Linked DNA regions of Homo sapiens: regions 1, 3 and 4 are each linked to region 2. Evidence: promoter capture Hi-C in 16 types of primary human blood cells and fetal thymus (Javierre and others, 2016). All regions are on one chromosome and are shown on one strand. The core of a region is centred on a gene start or on the middle of the fragment in contact, and the rest is flanking DNA. Distances in the headings are between cores, read along the strand shown.

Region 1 (3,536 bases), core at 662-3,161, 430 kb before region 2:
CCAGGCGCGGCCAACATGGTGAAACTCCGTCTCTACTAAAAGAACAAAAATTAGCTGGGTGTGTTGTTAGGCACCTGTAATCCCAGCTACTCAGGAGGCTGAGGCAGGAAAATTGCTTGAACCCAGGAGGTGGAGGCTGCATTGAGCCAAGATCGCACCACTGCCCTCCAGCCTGGGTGACAGAGCATGACTCCATCTCGGGGAAAAAAAAAAAAGTATGAAATTTAATGTTTCAAATTCTCATTTATTGTCCCTGTTATACCTTGTTCAAAGCTATGTATATGTGAACTGAGATACACCCATCTCTTCCCTGTGCTTTGGAAACAATGGTGGTCTCTTAGCTATTAATGAGGACTTGCACCTTAGTTTTCATTTTATTCACTTATCCAGCAAACAAATATTTATTAAACAATTACTGTATACCAGACTTTGGCCTGAGGTTCTCAATCTATCAAAACCAACCCTTTGAAACAAATACTTTGTAAGGCTTTCTTTATTTTCATAAACTTAAATTCATAGATAATATAACCTATTCATGTATTATTAAAATAAATATAATACCCTAGCTGTAATATAAAGGAGAAAAAGGGAATGGTCATTTAAAATAAAATAACATGTATTGCCATATGTGAATGTCAGGCAGGCACACCAGAAACCTGAAGTAGGCAGATGCCTGTACTTAATATGAATGCAATTAGATATGAAAGAGAAATAAGATCAGATGCCATTCCACTCAAAAAATACATATTTAATGGAAAATGATAATGCAAATGTAGAGACAGACACTAGTATGAAAACAAATAATGGCAATAGACTAGTTGTATTTGCATAGAATAAAAGAAGGAAAGAAACAACCTCAATTAAGGTCGGCATAACATGCCAAGACAAATACAAACCCTCACTGTGGAAAGAAAAAGCTGATAATCCCATAAATGAGGAAGTAAATAATGTCCATACACCACATCAAAACTGCCAAATCTTTTTTTTTTTATTTTGAGACGGAGTTTTGCTCTTGTTGCCCAGGCTGGAGTGCAATGGTGCGATCTTGGCTCACAGCAACCTCCACATCCTGGGTTCAAGCGATTCTCCTGCCTCAGCCTCCTGAGTAGCTGGGATTACAGGTACAGGCCACCAGACCCAGTTGATTTTGTATTTTTAGTAGAGATGGAGTTTCTCCATGTTAGTCAGGCTGGTCTCAAACTCCTGACCTCAGGTGATCCACCTGCCTTGGCCTCCCAAAGTTCTGGGATTACAGGTGTGAGCCACCACGCCCAGCAAAACTGCCAAATCTTTAAAAGTACTCCAAAGGTCATTGTTCTTGTGATTGATAATACCAGCTGATACTTTGTGGGGCCCAGGCGGATGCCCACCATGGATTATCAATAATAAAAAATAAGGTATCAGGTTAAAACCATTATCTGACTGCCCAATTTGTTCCAATATTACTGTGTAGCAATTATATGGTCAAGTGGACAAAATACCCAAGGTGAGTAAATTATTCAATAATTTGGAAACAATGTCTTTATTTCATTTAGACTTACCTCTCAATAACTACCTTTTACTCAAGTACTGGCCTTCAAACAACTTCTTGTAAAAAATAATAATAATTAATTAATATCATATACTAAAGTATTCTGATTTGTATTTTAGAGGGTGATATGGTTTGGCTCTGTGTCCCCACCCAAATCTCATGTTGAATTGTAAACCCTGGTGTTGCAGGAGGGGATTTGGTGGGAGGTGAATGGATCAAAGGGGCAGATTTCCTCCTTGTTGTTCTTGTGATAGTAAGTTCTCAGGAGATCTGGTTGTTTGAAAGTGTGTAACACTTCCCCTTAGCTGTTTCTCTTTCCTGCCACCATGTGAAGATGTGCTTGCTTCCCTTTTGCCTTATGCCATGACTGTAAGTTCACTGAGGCCTCCCCAGCCATGCCTCCTGTACAGCGTGAAGGACTGAGAAAACAAAACAAAACAAAACAAAAAAACCTCTTTTCTTTATAAATTACCCAGTTTCACGTAGTTCTTTATAGCAGTATGACAACTGACTAATACAGAGGGTTTACTCAGGCAGGACTTAACAGAAATCTTGCAGGACACAGGACATTTTTCATCATGTTGTACTGCCCTGCCCAGAGCATGACATCAAATATTCCTGTCTGTTTCCACTAAATGCCAGGAGAATCCTCCCAATCACCTCTACAACTTCCCAGAACACAGCCTAGGGGGCAGTACTGCACCCATTGAGAATCACCAGGCTGGACTCTGGGGGTTACAAAAGTGAGCACAGACATCATCCCTGCCCCTACGGAACCTATTTCTAGTGTGGGATACAGGTATATATAAAATAACCACAAAAATAAAGTTATATCTAACCTTAAATTATGCTAAGTACTTGAGGGAAAAGAATGTATTGCTGTGAGGACTAGGAGATTAGACAAGCCTCCCCATAAAAAGTAACAAGAAAGCAATGATTTGCAAGATGAGCAGGCATCTTCATTTATTTCTTGGCATCTTATGATCAGTGAAACACAGTACAAGGATTTTTTTATGCTTGCCTGGAGGAGAGGCAAGAATCCTCCTCCAGTCTTACAGATACAGATATACATGGTATGGGAGAGTGTTCTGGAAGGTTACCGCCTTTATGGCACAGCACCAAATTGCCTAATACATTCCATTTTTCCTTACGTTTTCTCTATTTAGGATTTATTTTGTTTCATTGACATTTATACTGAAAGAAACACTGAAAGTGGAAAACAATAAAGTGTCATTTAGTGACAGTATCACTGAGATCTGCTAAATAACCGTTCTTAGTAATTATTTCAAATTTTCGAGCCATTCGAAGGACTCCTTTTATAACCTTCAGGTGAATAAATGGACACAGGAAAGCTAAAAAAATACATTGCCCAGGTTCACACGAGAAATAAGTGTGAAGGAAATGAATAATGCCGGCTTCCCAGGCCAAGAGTTGTTTTTCTTAATCTCTATATTGTTTATTTGTTTTTTTGTGTTTTTTTATTTAATTTAGGTACATTACATGATATGGTGCACATGTCATCAAATAGATCTATTTGATCAAATAGAAAAGAAAAACTAGCTTAAGACTTCTTTGGTTTATAAAAGAATTTCTTGATAGAACTTCACAAATGTCCCAGACATAAATACTATCCTTGTGCTGATATTTTGATTTCTAACTTTTGTCTTCAGTGTGGGTACAGGGTTTGGAAGCATTTAATAATTTTAATCTGAGCCAGATTTTCGGAAAACTGAAATACAAAAGCAATGATAGAGGATTCATGAGTGGGATAAGTGCTGGAAAAAAGGACTGGTTTTCACTTCAAAGGTATCGTCATAAGCCCTGATGGCTCAGATCCAAAAAGAAGATTATTAATGAATCATATTCATGACAGGCATCCACTGAACGTTTTGAAGGATGCTACTAATGTGAGGCCTCATCAGTCAATTCTCAGGGCCCCTGTACTGATTTCTCCTTGCAGCACCCATGAGCCCCCACAAGCCTTCCACATAAGCTGGCTGCCCAA
Region 2 (3,918 bases), core at 984-3,483:
TAAAACCACCAGTAAGGGGCCTCCAACCCTGACCCTCAAAGAAAGGAGTCACTAATTAGCCTGAGAAGCAGAGGCCAGGCCAATGAAAAACCAGCCACGAGAGGTAGTTTGGGCAAATAACTGTGGTTTGGAAGGAGGCACAAAGAAGGAACAGCATTAGCAACACTGTCTCTTACCCATCTTTCCCCTGAAGACATCTTAGACACACAATGCACAAAGGACAGTGATCAATGGTCACAGAGAAATGAATAGGAGCAGGCACCTGAAAGGCTACAAACCTCTTTTCACAGGGACACAGCTTATGTGCTCATTTGATTCCACACTTAAGAAAATACTAGTATAACTTTCCTGAAAATAAAAAATAAAAAGATAACACATTTGCTTTTTTACCACAAGCCGGTAAGAACTGAGTTTCTAGGTCCGGTGGGCTTTCACCAGCCAAGTCCTGGACTGGTCTAGTCTTGGAAACAAAAGCCCAGTTTCAGGTCCCAGCCTCCTCCCTTCAAAAGGGCATGGATGTCCATAGAATCGAGGCAAGAAATAGAGCTCTCCAAGACTCCTCTCTGAGGCAGAGACCCCCAGCCTAGACAGCAGCTTGTCAGCTAGGCTTGGGGTGACAGGCTGCAGCAAAGTCCCAAAGACTCGCAAACATTCCAAGGCCACATGAAGCACAGTACCCAGCCAGGGAGCATCCACTGGGCTCTCCCAGTTCAGCTTCCATGGTGCATGCCTTTGGACAAAACCATTAGTTTGCCGGACACAGCTGGACACGGCCTCCAGAGCCTTATATATCCGAAAGTTATCATAGTGGTCTGCTACCTGCTTTGGCAAAGTGGCCACTGCGCTCACCAGAGCATAATCCTCTGCCTGAGCACGAACTGACGGCCCCACCAACCCTGGCTCACTAGGGAAGCAGGTAGTGCAGAAGGCTGGGTAGGTCTCAGAAGGATTTATTCTTTTGGCAGTGCATCGGTTCAAGAGACCTCCCAAGGCATCTGCCAGCTCGGAGTTCAGCAACTTAACCACCTTTTCATCATAGTAGTCACAGTCCCAGTTGGGGACGCCCTGCCGAAGGAGAAAGTAGCGGAAGCCATCCACGGTATAGCGGTTAAGGCAAGTCCTAGGATCCACCACGTTGCCCAAGCTCTTGGACATCTTTTGGCCACAGACTGTCCAGTGGGAATGGACACAGATGCGCTGTGGCGGGCTCATGCCGGCCCCTAACAGGAAGGCAGGCCAATAGATGGCATGGAATTTGAGAATGTCCTTACCTATGATATGAGAGGTGGCCGGCCACCAAGATTTGAACTCAGCATTTGGGTAGCCAATTACAGTGAGGTAGTTGACCAGGGCATCCAGCCATACATAGATGGTCTGCGAATCATCCCCGGGCACCGGAATGCCCCAGTGCAAGTGGCTACTTCTGCGAGACACGGACAGGTCGGGCAGCTCCTCGTCCAGCCACTGAAGAACTACGTGATGAAATGGTTCGGGGGTGATCGCCTGAGGGTTGCCCCGCAGCCACCGCTGGAGTGGCTTCCGGAACTGGGAAAGCCTGAAAATGTAGTTTTCTTCCTTGGTCCAGGAGACTGGATGCCCGCTCTCGAGAGATACAGGAAACGAATCCCCCGATGGGCCCGGCTGCTGGGTGACCTTGGCCTCAGGCAGGAAGCACTCGTCGGAAGCGCAATACCAACCTTCATAGACGCCCTTGTAGAGCAGACCGCGGGACTTAAGCACCCCCCAGAAGTGCTGCACAGCCACCCGGTGCCGGGCCTCCGTGGTGCGGATGAAATCTGTGCAGGAGATACCGGCCTCCTGGAAAAGCTGCTGGAACTGCTCAGAGACTCGGTCGCACAGCTCGGTCGGGGCCAGGCCCGCGGTAGCTGCTGCCTGCTGAATCTTCAGCCCGTGCTCGTCGGTACCAGTGGAGAATCGCGTGGCGGCCGTGCTGGGACCTCGGAGGCGACGGTGGCGGCATAGGGCGTCCGCCAGTAGTGCCGAGTACAGGTGCCCGATGTGCGGCGCCGCGTTCACGTAGAAAATGGGTGTAGTGAAGTAGGCGCGCACATCACAAGCATCATCGCCGGCACTGAGGGAGCCCGAACTGTAGTAGCGTGGGCCGAAGTCCTCCAGGAGAGACAGCCTACTAGCCCCCGTGCGTCCTAGCAGGCGGAGGACGGACGTTCGCAGCATGGTGCAGACCGGCCGCAAGCGGAGGAGGCGGCGTTCTGACAGCACGTGTGAGAGGCGCATGCGCAGCCGGGTCGCGCCGCAGCTTCCGGCCGGAAAGCCAATGAAACGCGGCCCCGAGCGCCGGCCCTCACCGCCCTCCCCGCCCGGCCCCGCCCCGCCCGCGCCTGCGCCGTCCGCACGCCGAAAGCCGCGGCGCCAGAGGCCGCCAATGGACGGCGGCTTGCCAGAAAAACAGCTCAGAGTTGCCGGGTTTAGGAGAGGCTATGAAAGAAGACGAACCTCTTTGCCTTCGTATAACATACTGTGTTTCCTGCTTTGGATTGTAATTTTATATTTATGAATCTGTTTCCCCCTCTAGGCTGAGCTGCTTGTAGGCAAGAGTTTTATATTCAGCCGTTTGTCTAAACCCCGTCCGTGGCTGGCATACTGCAAGACAGAGTATTGCTCTGCACATGCCCTGTCGATATCTAAAATGTCACCTAAATTTTATCTCAGAGCCTAAATCAATCTGTAAGGGAGGGAGAGAGAAAAAAGATGAAAAATCATTACCTACAGCATTTTGAGAGAAGGATAAGAACTGAGAATGGAAGAGAAGTCTTTAAACAGTTTTTGTTGAATCAACAAAAGTAGATTTGTGATCTGCCAAGTTCTTGCCAAAGTTTATTGAGATCCAGGAAAGTAGAGTGCAATATGCTGTCACTGTGCATATAAAGAATAATTTTCAAATTTATTTCTCAAAAAGTTAATTTTTTTAATGGTCTTGAAGTTCTTTTAAAATAGTGTTTCTCAAGTTTGCTTTTAGTAATGGAACCTTAGAATTTTTTTTAGGGGAGGAAACCTCAGGAGCCCAGAATTGAATTAATGTTAATCCCTAGTTCATAACACACTCTCATCTTTGATCTTTTTTTTTTAATTTAATTTAAGTAGCATATACATTTAATAATAAAATGGAGCAGCTATGAACCTACAACCCAATCTAAGAACTACAAGTGGTTTCAGAGTGTGGTCCCCAGAGCAGCAGAACTGGCAGCACCTGGAACTTCGTTCGATATGTATATTCTTAGGCCCCATCCCCCACATACTGAACCAGAAAACTCTGAGGGTAGGGCCCAGTAATTTAGATTTTAAGGTGATTCTGATGCACATTAAAGTTTGAGAAACACTGAACTAGAAAATTACCAGTGATTTAGATCTGTGTGCTCCTTTTCTTCTCGTACTGTCCTCCCTGAGGTAGTCATTGTCCTGAATTTTGTTCTTGCACATTTGTGTGATCACATACAAAGTATGTCTAAGTAACATTGTTTAATTTTGCTTGCATTTAAATATTCTAAAAAGGATATAATACTACATGTAGTCTTCAACTTGCCTTTTTATTCAACATTTTGTTGCTATATTAATCCATGTTGTTGCATGTAACTGCATTCATATGTTCTTAATACATGTTGCATGTAATTCATTCATTTTGACTGCTGTATAATAACCTTTGACTGAACACATATGGTAACTTGGATCTGATTTCTCTAGTGATATGATGAAAGGTGGACCAATCGAATTCTGTATAAGAGATATAAAAAATAACTTTGGATACTCAGTTGATGTGCTCTTATTTAATCCAGCAGTTTAAGAATGACCTACAACCATCTGGTCTTCAACAAAGTTGATAAAAACAAGCAATGGGCAAAAGACTCCCTATTCAATAAATGGTGCTTGGATAACTAGCTA
Region 3 (3,976 bases), core at 1,013-3,512, 360 kb before region 2:
GCTTAAAGAGATATTCAACTTAAATGTAAAAATGGCATAATATAAAAATCCCTCAGTGTCTTATCAACACCTAAACTGGCAAAAGGCAAATTAAAAACATGTTTTACATCTAACTTTGTATCCAAGGTGAGGCAGAGACTGATATTTTCCTGTAGTTTAATCAAGGGAAAATAGGCCCTTTAAGTTCTATTAAATTATTTAACAGCCACAAACAGATGCAATAATTCATTGTTGGCAAAACAAATCATTTTCTCTTCTTTCTCAATGCCAATAAAGCAAACATTCACAGGCACTTAATCAACATCCTTCCATAAGGCCAAACAATACAACCGTTTTATGAATGACAAAGGAAACATACATTAATAGGGTGACAGAATAATGCATCATTGATAAGCCAAAGATTTGGGAAAGTTTAAAAAATGATTCTGAAGGATATGGAAAACAAAAATTTACCATGATTCTGAATGTGCATGTCATTTCATTGAATTGACATTTATCAAGCAATTGGTGGAGAGAATTCTGTAAGAAGAATTAAGTTATTTAGACTTGAAAAGCTTTCTGACTTATTTATTTGGTCTGGAAAGTTGAAAGCCTTACTCATCCTGGATTGAGAGTACCCCTTGGACTAAAGAAGTTTTTTTAAAGAAGTTTCCTAAAGTATTCTGGCAAGGTGGCAACTAAACCAATCCAGAAAGGACTACCACCAAAGAAAATGAAAAACTTAGATTAATATTATTCTGATTTGCTAAAAATTTCCCTTCCTTCAAATAGAGTGGAGCTTTTCTCTCTATCCTAATCTTAGAGGATGTTGAGTGTGTCCATTATTCCCTACAATGCAGTCTACAGAATGTAGGTTTGTGTATTTGCATAGTCTATGTTCTTGAAGACTACATAAATCTTAGCTGCCCCTCAGTCTTATTCTGTATTTCAAAAATCCTAATCCCTTGAATTTTCTGTCTCCACAAGCTTCTGTCTCCATAAGCTTCCCTATACCAAACGGTCCACTGAAATTATTTGCTCCAACAATTCATTTGCTGAGGATAAATGGGTGCTCTCTTGTCTGCAAAACATAAAGACTTTCATTCAGTCTTTGCTTTAAATTAGTTAAAATCCTATAGAAGAAGTACAGTCATAAATGAATCACAGTTAATAATTAATACAATTTTGGCAAAGTTCCACAAAACTAAAATAGTACTCTCCTTTTGGCCCTGGAAACAAATTTTACTTAAATTTTCAAACATACTAAGACTATAACAATGGTGCGGTTAGTGGGAATCAATAGCTTCCTAGATTTTGTAGTTAAATTTGACCTCAACAAAATGAAAATTATTAAATTATATAGAATTTCTAATAGATTATAAAGTGAACATTTTAATTGTGGCTAAGCCTTAAATTACAAGCATATCAAATAGAGAATAAAAACATAAAGTTCACTGTTATTTGCACTGGTAATATGGACAAAATCTATTAATGCCTAAGACAGGATAGAAATGAAGATTTTTTTAAGTTGCAAACTAACCTCTGTTAAATTCCCGAATTAAGGAGCTCAATCTGATGAATAAAATAGTAACCTAGTCAGTAAATCTAAGTCACATTTGACTTTTGATGAGCTTATGGAAGGTAAACAAACTAGGATATAAGGCACTATAATGGAACTTGGAGGACTAGGGACTTATGTTTTAGTTTTGTTAATTGCTCCATCCTTAACACCTACTATTATTATATGAACTTTCTTATTCACAGGTTTCTTGCCTGTCTCCCAGAGCTCCCTGAGAGTGGATATCCCCAGTACCTGCCACCATGCCTGGCACCTCTCAAGCAGTCAATAAATACTTGTTGAATAAAAGTTTGTAGAAATCCCATAGCTATGTACTATAATGATTACTAGCTTATTGAACATTCCTATGGCAACAGAACGGGCCCTAAGAGGTGAAAGCAAGATTGGAACCCAGATATCTGACTCCTGGAGTACTTGCTCTTAACCAGTACTCCAGGAGTTCAATTCTGTGGGAACACTATCTCCACATAAGGCTTCTGCCTGAACATTGGATTTTACACCCAAATTGGCTTTTCTATTTCAAATCATCAGAGAGGATAAAAATACTTCCCATGAAAAGCTGATGGAACACAGTATACAAATTTAAATAATGGTATGAACCCTAAATATGATGGCTATGTTTCTTTCTTAGAAAACTAAGTTTACAAATATGTCATTAGTCATGTGTGTAAAAAGAGCAGGTAGCAATCATTTTATCCTCACTGACATGAAAAACAGCTCTCACATGATTGGTTTCTCCATGTCAACATTATTTTCCTCTTTTCAGTATCTGAACTTTCAGAATCTCAACAGTAATGATTCAGACAAAGCATTCAAATTAATCAATGCTATCATACTTGTACAGCCAAGTGACCTTTCTCTTCTCCTTGCAAAGTAAACAGTTAGCTTGACTTTTAATACATTCACTTTGAGTTTGCTTCTGATTATGTTGTTTTGCTGGGTTCTGGTTATTCTAGGACACAGTTATTACTGTGCAGACCACTCACTCTCCCTTGAACCTACTTATCAGCCTCCTCCTTGCTCTCATTTCTGCCTCCTTCTTCTCGGTTTCCATCTGTGCTCCATATTTATTCAAGGTAGCATTTAAACCCAAGCATAATATATATGTATGAGTGTATAAATTTATTTAAGGATATTTTAAAAAATTGAAAATAAAGAGGAAAAAACTCAGTAAAGTATAGTATTAAGTACTTAGTATAGTATTAAGTAACTATACTAAAAAATTTCCAGCTATTAAATGAGACTGGAACCCAGATGTGTCTCATCTCAAGACTACATTCTTTCCACTACATCAGTGGTCCCCACAGTGTGATCTTTGGACTGCCAGCAACAGCATCACCAAGGACCTTGTTAAAAATTGCAGACTTTCAGACTCTACACCCACTGGATCTGGGGGTGGGGTTCAGAAATTTTGGGTTTTAATAAGACAAGGGTGATTCTGATACACCCTTAAGTTTTACTGCATTACATCATTGGTCCCAAACTTACCTGATTATAAGAATCACCTGAGATAGCTCATTGACTTAGTATATTCCCAGGTTCTACACATCTGATTCAGTAGGTTAAAGGGGGGAGGCCAGGAATTTATTTTTTTTAACAAATGATACCCTAGGCTCACCCCCAAGTGATTCTTATGGTCAGGAAAATTTGAAAACACTGCACCAAATCAGAATATTCAACTTCATACACTTATGAAAAAAACTAGACATTGCATTTAATTATATGATGGCTCCATGTTAAGAATATAAGGATACTGAAACCGTGTTTTTTCAGCACTTGAATTTTAATTCCATTGTTAGTTCAGAAAAAAAGAGGAAGGGTATTGCAATATAATAGGGAGTCACCACTTTAAATGTGTTAAGAAATATTATTTTACATAAGCAGTTCTAGAGAAGTATATATAATTGAGTTACGTATAAATTGTAGGTAACTGAGAAAAGTCCAACCTCCATTCAAATATACAGAAGTTAATAAAGAAGCTTTATTTGCATAATAAAGGATTTCTTCCTTTAAGAAAAAATTTATCACAATTGTCTTGTATAAATTTGGAGCTCCCCTAGAATAGATAAAACTTGTCTTTTAATGCACAAAATTTATCAGAAAGGATAATCTTTGCCATTTCAAAAAAATAACGTGTAAATGAGACAAATAATTTGAAGGGCAGATTTGGAGCAGTCTGGGGCTTCCTTTGAATTTCACTTTATTTCCTGGAATTAGGCTCCAGAATCTTACCATGTCCTAAACAATTCAAATTTCTGACTAATGAATTGTAGCAGTTCAATGTACTCAGATGAAGAGGAAGGGAGCCGTCATTTATTAAAGTCCAACCACTGCCGTGCTAGACAGGATGGAATACATTTCTTCTCAGTATTGTGTAATGTGTATGGAGGAAAAAGTAAGAATCAACGTACCTATTGA
Region 4 (3,824 bases), core at 589-3,088, 410 kb before region 2:
TAAGTGTCCATCAGCAGATGAATGGATAAAGAAAATGTGATAGTACATATGGAGTACTATTCAGCCATAAAAAAGATTGAGATCCTGTCATTTGCAACAACATGGATGGAACTGGAGGTCATTGTGTTAACTTAAATAAGCCAGGCACAGAAAAACAAACTTTACATGTTCTAAGTTATTTGTGGGAGCTAAAAATTAAAATAATTGAACTCATGGACATAGAGAGTAGAAGGATGGTTACTAGAGGCTGGGAAGGGTAGTGGGGAATGAGGGGAGATGAGGATGGTTAATGGGTACAAAAAGAAGTTAGAATGAATAAGACCAAGCATTTGATAGCACAACAGAGTGACTATAGTCAATAATAATTTAATTGTATATTTAAAAATAACTAAAAGAGTATAATTGGTTTATTTAAAACACAAAGGATAGATCCTTGAGGGGATGGATAACCAATTTTCCATGATGTGATTATTATGCATTGCATGTCTGTACCAAAACATCTTATGTACCCCACAAATATATACACCTATGTACCCACAAAAATTATTTTTTTTAAGAGTAGACCAGGAAAAATGAAACTCCCCAGAGGTTGAAGTAAGAAAAACAGGACAAAATTTCAACCCCATGAGAAAACGGAGCTGCCAAGAACTGCAGAAACGCCCATCTTCCCAAATGACACATAGGCATCCAATGGTGACGTTGGACACAACGCCCAATATGAAGAACAAGCTTTGGTACACAGGCATCTACAGTGACCTTGGACATCATGACTGTGGATATTAAGGACAGGTTTTGGTGTCACATAGATCAAGGTGTGCATCCATCCCCACGGCTTACTAGTTAGTCGCATCATCTTGAACAACTTGCAGAGCTTCTGTAATCCTCTGCTTTCTCCTAAATCTCAGCACTGTACTAAAACACAGTCCCCACCCTGAAGGAGCAGGATTTTGTATGAGAAAAAGACATAGGGACACATCATTAACATTTAGTGAGTCAGGGTGGTGAGCATGGGAATAAAATTGTGTATAAGCTACAGATCTGGCACTATACAGGAGATAATTTGGTTTTGATGAGAATTGGAGGGTGAGGGGTATGGAGGGACAAGAGCAGGGAAGGCTTCCCTGGAAAGGCAATGGATAACACTAGTGCTGGATGTGAGTGATGAAGAGGAGCTGGTGGGTGACTGAGGAGGGAAAGAACATCACAGTTGGCAGGAACAGCAGTGCGAAGGCATGGAATCCCAAAACTGCCTGATATTTCCAAGAAACAGAACTGAGGGCCTGGAGAATATAAAATGTGAAGACACGGAGGTAAGCAAAGCCCCCATCACAGAGGACCTTCTATCCAGGTCAAGAACTTGGCATTTTTTCTTGAAGCTAACAGACTAACATCAAATCATTTCTCTCACTCAAGTCTTAGGCTTTTTAAAAGATTTATTTATTTTTAACTCTCTTAAATGAATTTAGAGCATTTTTTTCAGAAGATTAAATGAATTTAATTAAATTTTCTTACACAAGAAGGATGTATTAGATTTGAAAAGAGGACTTGATATTATTTTCCAAATGCCTACAGTTTCTGTTGTCAAGTTACAAACTGAATCAACTATGTTTGGTTGTCAAAACCAATCAAAGTTAAGATCTAGCTGAGTTACAATTGACATTTTCCTCATCTGATGTATGTAATACTCTGGATTCTTGGGCTTCTCTACTGTGCTTCAATACACAAATAACAATAGTTTCACATGAAGACACACTACTGTATATGAATCCTTTTGAAATGACTGAAGATTTATCCTAAATGTAAACCTTAGTAGGGAAAATCACTACATTAGACAATAATTATAATTAATGTAATAATAGTTAAAGGCACTCAAAACTTCATGGAGAACAAAAGGTTAGAGACAGAAAAATGCTTAGACTGACAACTTCATGGTAACTACATGACAAATCCAGAGGACACTACTCACATGCATTCAGTGGGAATGGCACCCCCTACGGTTGTGCAGTGCACAATTGACATAGGAGTATGCAGCAGCTCTGGCCAATTCAGGGATTAGACTGTTAAACCTTATGCTGCAAAAAAGAAATGACAGACAAACTGGTATAGAAATGTCTAATCAAAAGCTCCAGGAAAATAATACTGGTTGTGCTGATGTTTAACTTCAATGAAAATTCATAAAGTTTCATGTAATTAATTTTCAAGTCTCCTGTAGTTCAGAGATCTCTATGAAAACTTTTCCTGAGTATCTTTGACAAAACAGCCAAAGGATCTGACCTTCCCAGGAGCTGTTATTTAAAGAGGAAGGACAGTAGTAGTCACTTTATTATTTGCTCCTTTCTCTCTCTCCTCTCCCTCTCTCTCTTTCTGACCAGAGAAGAATCTCTAGAACAAAATTATGCTTCCTGAGATGAACCCAGCAATTTTTAAGGTGGTGGTTATTAAGTAGAGGATGACCGAATGATTTAGTATGGTTGATAAAACTGTGATTCAGTAGCAAAGACTATATTTTTCAGAATTTAAAATTGTAATTTCCATCTTGATGGCATTTGTAATTATTATATTGCTTACACATTTTTATGTTTTTCATAAGAACAGCTGAGAATACATTTAGTTAACCAAAGCCTCCAAGGAAAATTTCATTCCTCTATTATTGTTATTATCATATCTACATGTATTATTACAGAGCTTACAATAAGCAGGGTTTAATAAGTGAGTTGTTTAATATAAGAAACGAGCCTATGATATAACACATATACAAGCACACACTATGCATACATATAATTGTTCCTTTTGATGGTATTCTTCCTCTCCCAGGCTAAAATGTACTATTGATAAAGGAGAACAGGAAGGAAGTTGCTGGCTTTTTCCCTCTCTAGTTTCAGAGTACATGTAAAGACTCTATGGGCTGACTCAGAGGATACACAATATACATTGTTAAGAAGCTTCAGTCTCACCTACTCAGATTTAATACTAGGACATAGTTACCTCTAAAACATACTTTTCCTATACAAGACTTTATACGCTAGCTTTGTTTTTTAGCAGTCTTAGATATCAGTTTCTTGGTTGATAGCAAACCCACGATAAACAAGAACCTGTTTCCTGCAACATGTGTGGTAAGTGTGGAGAGCCATCTGGAAGGTAAGGGAATGAGGAAGCGGTGTGTAACCATCCATGATTTCACCAGCAAATAAACTGTATGGAACTCTCAAGTGTCTATAGGACTGTTTCAGCATATGTTCAAATTGTGCCCATCCAAGCAGTTTGGAGGAATAAACTTCTGTTACAATAATGTACCACCAGAGAACATGAGTAATTCTAACACATTCAACCTTCCCTTTCTATATATCTTTGCTTACAAAAAAGTGAAGCCCAATTGAATCTGAAAAAAAAAAAGAAAAAAAAAACAGAAAATGACTGATAGAGACCCATATTTCTGACCCAAGGAAATCAGAATTTGTTGCTGAAACCCAAGTCATATTTTCAGGGCATCCAGTATATTTTAAATGTATATGAAAAATATGTCTCTTAACACATGCTTAAGAAAAGGAGCTCAACTTTCTGAGACTAGATTTATTTGTAATTGATCAGGAATGTTTTTTGACCCAAGAAAAGGAAAATTCCCAGGCAACACATTCATGAACCAGTTTTATTCTAGTTTTTTTCATAAGGCCAGCTGCTGAGTAGCTGACAACTGGGAGATCCAGAATATTCTAGTTGATTAAGGAATCCCTCTGAGAGATTTGAATTGCAATATTTTTTCCCTGGAATACATTGTAAAGCAATTTAAGAACTTTCCATCCCTCAGTATAACTGACTCAAAAATC

What was found. Contacts are between HindIII fragments. The CHiCAGO score rates a contact against its expected background, and 5 or more counts as called.
Region 1: a contact is called between a fragment that was not itself captured here and the fragment with the promoter of MARS2 in region 2, in 1 of 17 cell types (neutrophils). The highest score is 8.7, in neutrophils.
Region 3: a contact is called between a fragment that was not itself captured here and the fragment with the promoter of MARS2 in region 2, in 1 of 17 cell types (neutrophils). The highest score is 5.4, in neutrophils.
Region 4: a fragment that was not itself captured here is called in contact with the fragment with the promoter of MARS2 in region 2 in 3 of 17 cell types (monocytes, neutrophils and naive CD4 T cells); the score reaches 6.5 in monocytes.

The regions. Positions count from the first base shown.
Region 1 is chr2:198,136,615-198,140,150 of GRCh38, reverse strand. All of the region lies in intron 5 of PLCL1 (phospholipase C like 1 (inactive)), which reads right to left. Among named protein-coding and RNA genes, the nearest start is that of LINC01923, 240 kb to the left of the region's middle. The HindIII fragment of the contact is 4,592 bases long and covers 1-3,536 here.
Region 2 is chr2:197,703,684-197,707,601 of GRCh38, reverse strand. MARS2 (methionyl-tRNA synthetase 2, mitochondrial) reads right to left here and starts at 2,233. Exons shown (of 1, transcript NM_138395.4): 1 at 1-2,233. The coding sequence starts at 2,196. The coding sequence ends at 415. RefSeq lists enhancers at 1,830-1,949, 1,990-2,039 and a silencer at 2,180-2,419. The HindIII fragment of the contact is 9,491 bases long and covers 1-3,918 here.
Region 3 is chr2:198,061,917-198,065,892 of GRCh38, reverse strand. The region is part of intron 1 of PLCL1 (phospholipase C like 1 (inactive)); the gene reads right to left. Among named protein-coding and RNA genes, the nearest start is that of PLCL1, 260 kb to the right of the region's middle. The HindIII fragment of the contact is 2,555 bases long and covers 985-3,539 here.
Region 4 is chr2:198,116,908-198,120,731 of GRCh38, reverse strand. All of the region lies in intron 5 of PLCL1 (phospholipase C like 1 (inactive)), which reads right to left. Among named protein-coding and RNA genes, the nearest start is that of LINC01923, 260 kb to the left of the region's middle. The HindIII fragment of the contact is 2,213 bases long and covers 732-2,944 here.